3 separate regions of the Homo sapiens genome follow, and all the other regions are linked to region 1. Evidence: promoter capture Hi-C in 16 types of primary human blood cells and fetal thymus (Javierre and others, 2016). All regions are on one chromosome and are shown on one strand. The core of a region is centred on a gene start or on the middle of the fragment in contact, and the rest is flanking DNA. Distances in the headings are between cores, read along the strand shown. Region 1 holds the start of PHAX (phosphorylated adaptor for RNA export). Region 2 overlaps CSNK1G3 (casein kinase 1 gamma 3). Region 3 has its middle 31 kb from the start of CEP120.

Region 1 (4,595 bases), core at 1,642-4,141:
GTGCCCATCCTTCTGAACCAATTCTGGCTGGCTGGGCACAGTGGCTCATAGCTGTAATCCCAGAACTTTGGGAGGCCAAGATGGAAGGATCACTTGAGTGATCAGAAGTTCGAGACCAGCCTGGCCAACGTGGTGAAACCCCATCTCTACTAAAAATACAAAAATTAGCTGGATGTGGTGGTACACGTCTATAGTCCCAGCTACTTGGGAGGCTGAGCCTGGAGAATCGCTTAAACCCAGGAGATGGAGGTTGCAGAGCGCCAAGATCATACCATTGCACTCCAGCCTGGGGGACAGAGCAAGACCCTGTCTCAAAAAATAAATAAGCCAATTCTGGGAATATAGGCACCAGCAACTGCTCACATTGAAAACAGGGATTGCATCCTTCTTCTACATCCTTTTTTCAAAACTCCTGTTAGCCCTGCTTAACAGGAGTTCAGGAAAAATCAGAAATGATGAATTGTAATGAGGTTGAGCAGGAAGAGACAGAATTAAATGAATCATATATGAAAGCACTTTGAAAACTGCAAAGCCCTGTAGAAATGAAAATGCAGTGGCTAAACTCAGGACACCTTAAAACAGTTCTGTATTAAAAGTGGCAGAGGAGCCAGGTGCTGTGGCTCACGCCTGTAGTTCCAGCACTTTGGGAGGCCAAGGAGGGTAGATCAGGAGTCAGGGTGGTCAGGAGTTCAAGACCAGCCTGGCCAACATGGTCAAACCCCGTCTCTACTAAAAATACAAAAATTAGCCGAGCCTGGTGGTGCATGCCTGTAATCCCAGCTACTCGGGAGGCTGAGGGATGAGACTCGCTTGAACCCAGGAGGCAGAGGCTGCAGTGAGCCGAGATTTTGCCACTGCACTGTAGCCTAGGAGACAGAGCAAAACTCTTGTCTCAAAAAGAAGAAAGAATTTAATAGACAGGAGGCCACCCATGCCACGTGGGAGACAGAGTTATTACTCAAATCAATCTCTTGGAGAATTCAGGGACTAGTGTTTTTCAAAGATAGTTTGGGGAAGGGATGGAGTGGCTAAGCAATGGGTTCTTGCTGCTTATTGGTTGGGGATGCAGTCATAGGGGTATGGGAAATTGTCCTCAAGCAGCTCGACAACTTCTGTGTGGGAACCCAGAAGCGGTTAGAGGTTCAGGTGGAACCATTGGTAGTCAGACATGCAAAATATCTGAAAAGATATCTCAAAACGCCAATCTTAGGGTCTACAATAGTGATATTATCTGGAAGAGTAATGGAAAAGTTGCATACCTTGTGACCTCTGGGATAATGACTGGCAACGGTTTATGTCTACACCTTAGCAGAATTCAGCCTCCTTTATCCGTCTACCCTGGTGGTCTCTTACTAGCTTTACAAAGGCGGTTGGCTTTTGGGGAAGGGTTATTATCATTTAAACTATAAACTAAATGTCTCCCAAAGTTACATTGACAGGCCCAAGCACAGGAATAATTAAGGGCAGCTTGAAGGCTAAAAGCAAGATAGGGGTTGGCTAGATCAGATCTCTCCCACTGCCATAATTTTCTCACTGTTATAATTTTCGCAAAGGCGGGTTCCAAGATAACCCTTAAAGAATGGGGTGGGTTGAGGGAAGGGCCTCTCAGGCCGAGTGAACAGCAAATGCAGAGGCCTGGCCTGAGGAACAACAGGTTCAGCGCGCCAGCGGTTAGGCAGGGGGACACACTAGGACCAGTGACCAGATGCCCAGTCCACATGACCTTGTTTGCCATGTGGCAAAGTAAAACAGAGGTTCCTCTTCAAAAACTTTCCTCCCCGTCTAATTAGGAATAAATAGTAACTTCTCTTAAAAGCAAAATTTATTCAAAGATCTGTGCTAACATTCTTAAATATCTGCTAGCCATAATAAAAAAAAATGTACTTTATGTTCTTAGCTCCCACAATTTAGCCTAAATATTTGCCCTGGCATGCTTTTACTAGTCCAAGCAAGCATTAGGTCATAGCCTGTTCCTCTTCCTTATTTAAAAGTGTTTTCATCTTTCTCAGCATTCCACAAGTTACTTCCTCCTTCCTTTGTTCTCCTCTACCTTTGCCTCTTTTAAAAAGTTCTAAGTTGCTAGCCAATCGGGACAAATACAAAATGTGAGGTCCGGTCCAGCCAATAAAAACCAGCCACAGCAGTAAGGTAAACACGTCAGGTTATAAATGACCCTGTCTCCTTTTGTTCAGTGTACTCTCCTGGCAAAACTGCTGGCGAGTGTACCCTTTCTGCAGAAAGTAAAAATGGCCTTATTCAGTAAGTTAAATTTATGTTGCTATTTCTTTACGACACCGGAAAACAAACATTTCAAACACCATGCTGAGAACTCAGTCCTTGTTTTGGGGAGGGATGCACTTGGAAGATTCGAGCTAAGGTACAATCCTCCCTAGGTATCCGCGGGTCATTGTTTTCAGGACCCCCACAGATACCAACATCCGCCATGCTCAAGCCCCTTACATTATGTGGGGGTGCACGGTGGGTCCTTCCCATCCGCAGGTTCGGCATCCGTGGATGGGGAGTGGATACAGAGGGCGGACTATACAGCTTGAAAGGCTTCCCTGGAAGCAATATGTAGAGTGGATTGTGGAGGAGCAAGAACAGAAGCGGGGAGGCTTGTCCAGAGCATACAGGGGAAGGATGTACGGCCAAGGGAGGAATCCCAGACGACCGCGATACGTGACATATTTATGTTTGCACGAAAATAAAGTTTGGAAGAAAAGTGTTGGGGGAACAAGGGATTCATTTTCCCGGGGTAGTTGGAATGCAATGGGACGCCTCAGGCCGCTGGGACAGGCTGGCCTCCGCGCGGGGGCGCCCGAGCAGCCGAGCCGCCGGGCCTTCCGGCTGCCCCGCCGGAAGTGCTCTCCTGACCCGCCGCTGTGCAGCGCAGCGCACCGCGGGAAGATGGCGTTGGAGGTCGGCGATATGGAAGATGGGCAGCTTTCCGACTCGGATTCCGACATGACGGTCGCACCCAGCGACAGGCCGCTGCAATTGCCAGTGAGTGTGAAAGGAGGGTGGGTGATCGTGGCTGGGCGCGCGGAGCCTGGGCCCCGGGGAGCGCGCAGGCAGCGGTGAGGGTGAGGGGTGGGAGCTAGGAGCCCGGGCCAGAGCGAGGAGCCCAGGCTGTCGGGTCAGTGGCCGCAGAAGGGGCGAGCAGACGTCCCCCAGGCGGGCTCACGGAGCCCGGGCTGCGGGGGCCGAGGGGCGAGGGGCGACGGCGGCAGCGGCAGCGGCTGGCCGTGCGAACCCCGAACTGGCTGCTCCCTGCGAGGCGGGGCGCGCGAGCCCTGGCGCCTCCTGGAGGCCGGCTTGCGGCGGCCTCTTAGACGTCTCACCTCCGCCTACCGCTCTTTCTTTTCTAAACTTGGGGCTTCCCCACTCCATCGCCGCTAGGTAACCATAAAGGGGCAGATTTTGCCAAATATGTAGCATCTAGGGACATCAGCCTGAAACAGCCTGTGATGCTCATTTTCTCCCTGAGCCGAAGGGAGACTGAGGCCCAGGAATGAAGTTTATCGCTCACTCAAAGATCTGGTTTTCCATGTTTCCACCGAACCTAGCTTTGTCATGCGGTACCATGGCACTAGGCTTTTGCATTAGCCTCTCTGATTTTGTTTGTTGTTTTGAGGTGGTCTCACGCTGTTGCCCAGGCTGGAGTGCAGTGGCGCGATCTCGGCTCACTGCAACCTCCGCCTCCCGGGTTCAAGCGATTCTCCTGCCTCAGCCTCCCGAGTAGCTGGGATTACATGCGCCCGCTGCCACGCCCGGTTAATTTTTGTATTTTTGGTAGACGCGGGGTTTCACCATGTTGCCCAGGCTGGTCTCGAACTCCTGACCTCAAGTGATCGGCCTGCCTCGGCCTCCAAAAGTGCTGAGATTACAGGTGTGAACCACGGCGCCCGGCCACATCCAGCTAATTTTGTATTTTTAGTTGAGACGAGATTTCTCCATGTTGGTCAGGCTGGTCTCGAACTCCCAACCTCAGGTGATCCGCCCGCCTCGGCCTCCCAAAGTGTTGGGATTACAGGCGTGAGCCACCTCGCCCGGCCTAATTTTTGTATTTTTAGTAGAGACGGGGGTTCTCCATGTTGGCCAGGCTGGTCTTGAACTTCCGACCTCAAGTGATCCACCCGCCTCGGCCTCCCAAAGTGCTGGGACTACAGGCGCGAGCCACCGCGCCCGGCCCAGCTTCCCTGCTTTCTAAACGGGAATTTGTCTTGACTGCCTTGGTAGGTAGCAACCTCTTTGAGAGGGCGTTGGTGCCAGGCTGCCTGTGTTCAGATCCTGGGGCCACCGATGTGTGACCTACAGCAGGTTTATTTAGCCTCACTGCTTTTTGTCTACCTCTGTGGAATTGGCATGATGTACCACTGATAGGGTTATTGCAAGGATTCTGTGGAGCATACAGTGTGCAGTAATGCCTGGTAAGTGTTATCTCTGATTATTATTTGAAGATAGGAAGATAGATAGTCCCAACTTCCATTTCTAGCGTAGTAGGAGTTTAACAAAGACAAATACTTGCTTTTGCATATAAATGTTTAGGAAATTAGTACCAAGATATTTTGTTTTTCAATCTCAGGTTGTTTTTA
Region 2 (4,390 bases), core at 1,712-4,211, 3.0 Mb before region 1:
GTGCTCATAGCAAGAGTTCTTATAATGATTCTTGGCCTTGTGGAAAAACATTCGCTTTCAAACAGGCCTTTGTAGTTAAGTGCTTTAAAAAATGTGAACAGGCTTTAATAGGGGCCAGATTACTGTTGGGAGACTTTTTTCATGTAAAAGAACTGTTAAAGACCCTAGGGGGTGTTCTTTAGTTACTGTGTTTCAAAGAGAAAGCCTTCCTGTGATTTCTGTAACTTACTACATGGTAAAATTTATTTCCAGATATGTCAGTTGGTGAAAGAACACAAAAAAAGAAATTATGAGGGTAAAGAGCATTTCAGACTGAGTTTCAGTAATAGATTTGTTTTACTAGCTAATATTTATGGCTTGAATTTTGAAATGCTTTGTGGGTTATGAGACTAATACTGTTCTCTGATAGAACCATGTAGGCGAGATCACCTTATGACCGTGGCTTATTGGCACTATGTGACTAAAGCTTCCCCTTGGATAGAATTCAAAGAGGAAGTGCCTTTTATATTGAGTTCCTCTCCATAACAGAGCGTCTTACTGTAGGGCTCAGCATACTTTTACATGTATAGTATTTTAAGTTTTTTAAACTATATGCATATTATATATAGGTCTTGCATATACATTGATAAATGTATCCTTACATATTTCCTGTTTTTTAATGCTGTTGTAAAGGTATTGGTTTTAAAATTCAATTTTCACTTGTTCGTTGTGAGTATAGAAATCCAGTTTTTTTTTTTTTTTTTTGAGACTGAGTTTCGCTCTTGTTGCGCAGGCTGGAGTGCAATGGCGCGATCTTGGCTCACCACAACCTCCGCCTCCCAGATTCAAGCGATTCTCCTGCCTCAGCCTCCCGAGTAGCTGAGATTACAGGCATGTGCCACCATGCCCAGCTAATTTTTTTTGTATTTTTAGTAGAGACAGGGTTTCTGCATGTTGGTCAGGCTGCTCTCGAACTCCCAACCTCAGGTGATCAGCCCGCCTCAGCCTCCCAAAGTGCTGGGATTACAGGCGTGAGCCACCGCGCCCGGCCCAGAAATCCAGTTGATTTTTATTTTTATTTTGTAGAGACAGGGTCTTGCTCTGTCACCCAGGCTGGAATGCAGTGGTGCAACCATGGCTCCCTGCATTGTCATCCTCCTAGGCTCAAGGAATCCTCCCACCTCAGCCTCCCTAGTAACTGGGACTACAGGTGCATGCCAACACACCCAGCCACCAGCTAATTAAAAAAAATTTTTTTTTGTAAAGTTAGGGTTTCTCTATGTTGCCCAAGCTAGTCTTGAACTCCTGGTCTCAGGCTATCCACCTGGCTCGACCTCCCAAAAGTGCTGAGATTACAGGTGTGAGCCACCGAGCCTGGCCCCAGTTGATTTTTATGTATTAACCTTATATCTTGTAACCTTGCTAAAACTTACCTACTAGTTGTAATAGACCTTTTGTAGGTTATTTGGATTTTTCTACATATACAATCCTGTTGTCTGCAAAGAGCAATAGTTTTATTTCTTCATTTCCAATCTGAATATCTGTTAATTTTGTTTCTTTGCTTCTTTGTACTGGCAAGAACTTCCAGTACAATACTGAATAGAAAGGGTAAGAGTGGACATCTTTGTTCGTTCTTGATCTTAGGAGTGTCTTTTATCATTTAAGAATTATGTTAGTTGACATTTTTCGTAGTTGTTGTCAGGATGAAGTTGGCTTGTAATTCCTAGTTTGCTGAGATTTTTTTAAAAATCATTAATACGTGTTGGATTTTGTCAAGTACTTTTTCTGTATCTGAGATGACAATATGATTTATATTTTATTCTATTAATTTGGCGAATTACATTGATTGATTTTTAAAAGTTAAACCAAACCTACATTCCTAGAATGAACCTTACTTAGTCATGAGGTATTATCTTTTTAAGGATTTCATGTTTGTGTTTATGAGGAATATTTCTTATAGTTTCCTTTAATTGTAATGTCTTTATCTGTTGTTGGTAACAGGGTAATGCAGTGAGTTGGGAACTCTTCCAATCCTGGGTTTATGTAGAATTGGTATTATTCTTTAACTGTTTAATAGGATTCAGTAGCGATGCTATCTGGATTGTATTTTGGGAAGTTTTTAAATAATAAATTTAATTTCTTTAATTGATGCAGAGCTATTCACATTTTCTTCTTGAGGCAGTTTTAGTTATTAGTAGCTTTCAAGATATTTGTCCATTTCATGTAAGTTGTTTAATTTACATGTAAGTTGTTTCGTAGTATTCTTTTATCATTCTTTTAATATCTGTGGGATCTGTTCTGATGCCTCTTCTGTTTCTTCTGTTATTGGTAATTTGTGTTTCTTTCTTTTAGCCTGCTGAGAGGATTAATGATTTTATTGAACTTTCCAATCCAGCTTTTGTTTTCATTGGTTTTCATTACTGATTGTCCATTGGTCATTGATTTCCTCATTTGTCATTATTTTGTCCTTCTGTTTATTTTGGGTGGTATTGATATGAAGGCAGATACAGATAAGTTGGTCAGAATACAGAGTCTGAAATAGACTTATACATAGATGGCCGATTGATTTTTGAGAATGGTGCAAAAGCAACTCGAGGGGAAAGGATAGTTTTGCCAAGAAACTATATGAGAGTAGCTAGATATTAGTATTGAAAAAAATATATCTAAATCCTTACTCCACACCAAAAGCAAAAAAAAAAATTACTTCAAAATGAGTAATAGGTTTAAATGTAGGAACCATAACTATAAAATTTCTAGAAGAAAAAACAGGATAAAATCTTTGTGATCTTGTGGGTAGAGATTTCCTAGATTGGACATCAAAAAGTATAGAAAATAAGAGGAAAAAACCCCTGATAAATTGGACTTCATCAAAATGTAAAATTTCTTTTAAACATACTCTTAAGAAAACAAAAAAATAGCAAGCTGTTTTCTTGAAGGGAAAAGGTATTGGCAAAACATATCTGAAAATAACTTGTGTCCAGAATATACAAGGAACTATTACAACTTTTTAGTAAGACAATCCAATTTTTTAAACAGGCAAACACATGAAATAAAGTTCAGTGTTAGTCACCAGTGAAATACAAATTAAGTCAGTTAATCCATACTTTGAAGTTTGCTTTTCTGAAAGGATTTATTACTGCTTATACTTCATAGCCACTAGCATGGCTAAAATTTAAAAGACCATACAGAGGTTGGACAGGTGCAACTGAAACTCCCATACATTGCTGGTAGAAATGTGAAATGACATAACCCCTTTGGAAAATCATATAGAAGTTTTTTATAAAGTTAAACCTATACTTACAACATCATGTAGCAATCCCCCTTCTAGATATTAACCCAACATAAATGAAAATGTATGTCAACATAGACTAGTACAAGAAGAATGTTCATAACAGCTTTATTCACAATAGCCCCAAACTGGAACCTATTCAAATGTCTGTCAACAGATGAATAAACACATTGTAATATACTACTCAGCATTAAAAAGTAATGAGCTATGGTTGCACGTAACAACATGGATAAATCCTGAAAACATAGTAAGTGAAAGAATTTGGACACGAATCTATACTGTATGATTCCATTCATGTGCACCTGTCTAATCTGTAGTGATGAAGGCAGATAAGTGGTTGCCTGAGGCTGATGGTATTGTGGGGGTTGGGGGAGAGTAATAGGCAAGAGACATTTTGGAGCATTAGAAATGCCTCTTGATTGTGGTGGTAGTTATGCAGGTGTGTTTGTTGTTAAAACTTACCAAACTATACCCTCAGGACTACGAGAATCTAATGAAGTAAAATTTTCGTTATAAAAGTTATAACTAGTTTTTTTCATATTCTCATCCCCACTTTCATTAGTGGATGTAGATGGACTTTAAGGCCACTACTTATTTTGGAAAATTTGCTATTTTTAATAGCATATACTTACATTTTATAATAAAAAGTACAAGAAATAAAAAAACCTCTCCGTTATATCACATTTTTAGCATGCGAAATGGGAAGTTGAAATCTCTTCTCTAGTCTTCCAATCTTGTAGCCTTAATGACTGTCAATTTTGATGTATACTTCTGCAACTTGCAGTCTGGTGGAAGCATATATATTGATTAAATAAAAACACAAACATAGTATCTTTAAATCATAACAAGTGTTATTGAAAACAAGTGTATTAGTCTGTTTTCATGCTGCTGCTGCTGATAAAGTTATACCTGAGACTGGGCAATTTACAAAAGAAAGAGGTTTAATGGACTTACAGTTCCACATGGCTGGGGAGGCCTCACAGTCACGGCAGAAGGCAAGGAGGAGCAAGTCACATCTCATGTGGATGGTGGCAGGCAAAGAGAGCTTGTGCAGGGAAACTCCTTATAAAACCATCAGGTCTCATAAGACTTATTCACTATCAGGAGAAAAGCATGGGAAAG
Region 3 (4,392 bases), core at 66-2,565, 3.1 Mb before region 1:
CTATCACAGGAAGCCAGAAAGAAATGTAAATTTACTCTTGATTCCAGGTTCCTTCAGCCTGGAGTAAAAACTTAAACAGAATACAACCCAGACGAAAAGGTTGAAGGAAAAGGTCTCAAACCCTGACAGGCTGAATTCTCAAAGACCATAACTAAAAAAAACAAATCAAAATGCTATGTTTAAAAAGCTTTTCTACCTCTCCTAACAGTCAAGCCAGACCCTTCTCCTATTAGATGCAAACACGATCTTTAATCTATAATGCATCTGCTTTCACAACATAGAATGATTAAAAGAGAGGAAGGCTCCCCTCCGTGCCCTATTCTACTTCCTCTCTATGCTTCTCTAAGTAGCTGATTACTATGAACCCTGCATGTTTCCGGCGATGTTTTTGGAGCTCTTTCCTTTGTTGTCATCTACTAGATTCAGAGCTTCTCATTAAGGAAATTAATGTAAGTATAGTAAAATATGTGGCCAAAAGAGTCAAAATTGAACTAGGTTTTGCTCATTCCATGTCCATTCCATATACCAAGCTTCCTCAACTACTCTTTTTGCATTTTTTACCTTCACTAATTTGACAGCTATTCATGAGTGTTTAGATACAGTTGTCAAATTAATAAATAATTCTAAAGTGCCATTTTTCCTGCAAATCCAATGATACTTAGACAACTTTTGGCTAGGCAATGCATAGGCGTGGTGGCTCTTGCCTATAATCCCAACACTTTGGTAGGCCAAGGCGGGCAGATCACTTGAGGTCAGGAGTTTGAAACCAGCCTGGCCAACATGGAGAAACCCCATCTCTACTAAAAACACACAAAAAATTAGCCAGGCGTGGTGGCAGGCTCCTTTATTACCAGCTACTTGGGAGGCTGAGGCAAGAGAATCGCTTGAACCCGGAAGGTAGAGGTTGCAGTAAGCCGAGATGGTACCACTGCACTCTAGCCTAGGCAACAGAGCGAGACTGCGTCTTGGGAAAAAAAAAAAAGAGAAAACTTTCAATGCTAATTAATTTATCATAATATAAACAGTTTCTAATGTTTACTTAGATTTATAAGGGTTGGACGATGTTCCTGAAAGAAAATAGAAAGTCACATAGGTAACCTGATTGATCTCAGACCAGTGTGTTTAATACTGCAAGGCAGTATAGTAAAGGGGTAAAGAGAGAAGTCTGGGGTCAGATTGTCTGGGTGGGTCTGATTTTGGGCTCTATATTTATTACTGTGTCACCTTAGGTAAGTCATTTAACTTTTCTGCGTCTCAGTTTTATCATCTAAAAAAAAACCCTTAAGATAATAATAGTATCCAACTTAGAAAGGCGATGATTTAGGACTTGTAAGATGCTCAGAAGAAATGTTGTCTGTGGTCATTATTGCACATAGGCTAATATTGAGGGGAGAACACTGGTTCATTCCCCTGCCTGTGATTTCAGGAATTCTGCCCCACTTAAAGTCTTACCAATATATGTCTGGATTCCCCATTTAAGGTTTTCATGGGCTTACAAAAACTCAGATCCTGCCTAAGCTACCTGAGGGTACGTTTTACCTCCCCTGCTGCTGGTCCTGTGACAAGGCTAATGTCTAGCCACACCAGGGTGCCTCCCCTAGATGCTCCCAACATTGGATTTCCAGGAGTCTTACTGTACCAAAGCCAAGGTCTTTTCCACCCAGAAGGGAAGGGAATACTTAGCCTCCTGCCTCTTGATGCCACATTCTACTCCCTTGAGTGCTTTAGGGAATTTGCTTCGATGCTTCATGCCTACTACGCCTTTCTCTTTAAACTTCACGCTTGGGGCCCTGGCTATGAAACAGGGATACCTGAGGCACAAAACCTCCCTACCTCTCCCGTTTTTCAAAGAGCAACTCTCTGGCAAATGGACTCATGAAAGTCCTGCTTAAAAGTTCCTCAGACATGTTTGAATGGGCTTAAATCTTACTTTAGGCTCAGTCCAGGACTCTGATTCCCCTTTCCTGGTTACATAAAGATGCTAATAAAATCCTGAAACCCCCTTTAAGCAATCAGCAAACAGAATCTCCTCTTAGTTTTCCCTTTTGGGCAACTGTATATGCCTGCACTGTATTCAGTAAACATATTTCCTAAACAAAGTAAAGCTTTCCATATGCTTTTGTGATTTTAACACATTACTGATTGAGCACAGTAAAAGCCTGAAATGCATGCAGTGCTAGTAAGATAGTCCCATGGGTATCTACTTCCTTAAACAACTTTCCCTCAAAAGTACTAAATGTCTCCATAATATCAACTATTGATAAAGTTCTCAATTCAGTGTTATGTCAGTTGAGGCAACCCACTGATTTATATTTCCTAGAAGGCTTTTTCTTTGAGAGTTAGAATGGTAGACAGAAAAGGAAATTAATCTACATGAAACTCTAAGGGAAAAATGTAGGTTTACAAGTAGTGAGGAATGGCGAACTATTTTTTTTTTTTCTGCAGGACATTTCTGATGAGTCATGTTTATATGCACAAGTATGTATACCCACTGTTACTACAGGCATAGTAGAGATACAGTTGGCTGCAGGCTGTACACAATAATCTGAAGCCTGGCTGTAAACCTTCTCTTCACATTAATCTGCCACACACTCTGATGATTAGGAATCCCTGATCCACTAATAATCTTTTCTACTATGAATATATAGCTGAACAATTTGTGATTACAGTTGCTAATATATCCTGAAGTACATCTAACCTCCAGTTGATGTCCCATCTGGTGGTGTTTCCAGTTTTGTGAGCTTTATCTCTGAATCAACTTTAATAGAAAATAGTAAGGTCCTGAAGCACTAGTAGTCACTTGGTTCTGGAACCCTATTTATCTCTGCATTTCAATAATGGGCATTTTTATGTAATGCCAATGAGCAGGGAATGTTCACAGAATGCACTATGTAGGGATTCCCTAATATCTGCGTTGTAGCAGCATCTAACCATGTGCCATTCAAGCATATTGTAAGCAAAAGGGATGGATTAGCCCAGTGTGGAACAATTAGAAATGAGCCAGCTTGCCTGAAACAAAGGCTACGGAAAGAGATTAAGAGTAGAGACATCTGCTTACCATCAAGGGTAGACTATAAATAGCAGTAGCAGCCTGAAACCAGAAAGTGATATATATATATATATATATATATATAAATGGAAAGGTCTATTGTTCACATACAAACTTTCCAAAACCATCACGACTGCCCCATCATCATTATCACTAATATTCCTTTGCAAATATTTATATTTAATATGCATTGAAAAATCAGGTTGCTTGTTTTAACATAAAACCAGAGTGTGTGATATAGGATGGTATATATTATTTTCAAATTTTAAAAGGAAAAAGAAAGCTCATAAAGGAATTACCCCAGTTATTCAGAGAGTTCAAATGTTTCTGTTTTGGTTATCCATCCTCTCTGATACAGCTCACAGGGAAGCTTCAAGTAGTTAGGAACTAAAAGGTATAAACCAATATTCACCGAGTCTTCTGAAAACACCATGACTTGCAGTTTCACAATTTTAAGAGACAGCACCCTGCAATACCATACTGTGCTTGAACATATGCAAAGAAGGATAATTATAACCATTTTTCAGTCTTGTGCAACTAGAAGTGGAGATATTGCACCCGATCTGCAAACTTCATTATGAGGCCACTAGGGTGTCCATCACTGTCAAATTCCTATTGGCATTTCAATTAAAGAGGAAGGATGGGGAGAGGGAAAGGGAAGTGAAAGGAGGACAAATATTATTCCTAGAAAATAGGCTCAGATATTTGTACTTAATATTTTCTACATTTTGATTATTTGGCAAGTGCCATGGGAGAGAGTGATGTCCAACTTTGCTTGTCATTTATCTCAGCTTATCCTTTGTTCCCAGTCACAGACTCAACTGGAAGCACTGTGCAAATTACCCCATGATGCAAGCATGCACTTAAGCCAATGGGTTATTTTGTATTTGAAGATGTCCCACCAAATTAATAACTTATTATTTATTGAGGGTTTTTTTCCACCAAAGGTGTACTAGATTTTCACCTAATAATCTATATACACTTATTCAGTTCCTGCCTGTGACCAAAGGCCAATTTTTTTTTTTTATCAGGTGCTTACCCAGGGCATGGAGTACAATGTATGATCACGTGGACAGATATTCTCCATAAAGTAAGAGGAAAATCACATGGAGAGTGAATCTTTGACCTAAGACTCATAAATACAAAGCACTTGCCAACTGAACTAGTGGCTAAAGAGAAAGAAAGCATTTCCAATTAGGAAATAAACCTGGTTTCACAATACTGTCTATCAAATATTAAGGGATTCTCAGCACTTTTGTCCCAGGTCAAATAATTCTAAACTTTTATTCTTTACTCAGAAAGCTCTCATTTCCAGAGACTAAACAACCAAGCACATCTGTGAA

What was found. The method cuts DNA at HindIII sites, captures the fragments that hold promoters and counts their contacts. A CHiCAGO score of 5 or more calls a contact.
Region 2: a contact is called between a fragment that was not itself captured here and the fragment with the promoter of PHAX in region 1, in 1 of 17 cell types (M2 macrophages). The highest score is 5.4, in M2 macrophages.
Region 3: a fragment that was not itself captured here is called in contact with the fragment with the promoter of PHAX in region 1 in 1 of 17 cell types (monocytes); the score reaches 5.0 in monocytes.

Annotation. Positions count from the first base shown.
Region 1 is chr5:126,598,056-126,602,650 of GRCh38, forward strand. PHAX (phosphorylated adaptor for RNA export) reads left to right here and starts at 2,892. Exons shown (of 5, transcript NM_032177.4): 1 at 2,892-3,003. The coding sequence starts at 2,908. RefSeq lists enhancers at 1,974-2,823, 2,824-3,671, 3,672-4,520 and silencers at 2,730-2,939, 3,060-3,309. The HindIII fragment of the contact is 34,757 bases long and covers 1-4,595 here.
Region 2 is chr5:123,582,634-123,587,023 of GRCh38, forward strand. The region is part of intron 6 of CSNK1G3 (casein kinase 1 gamma 3); the gene reads left to right. Among named protein-coding and RNA genes, the nearest start is that of CSNK1G3, 73 kb to the left of the region's middle. The HindIII fragment of the contact is 4,995 bases long and covers 465-4,390 here.
Region 3 is chr5:123,452,267-123,456,658 of GRCh38, forward strand. No RefSeq gene overlaps it. Among named protein-coding and RNA genes, the nearest start is that of CEP120, 31 kb to the left of the region's middle. The HindIII fragment of the contact is 1,575 bases long and covers 529-2,103 here.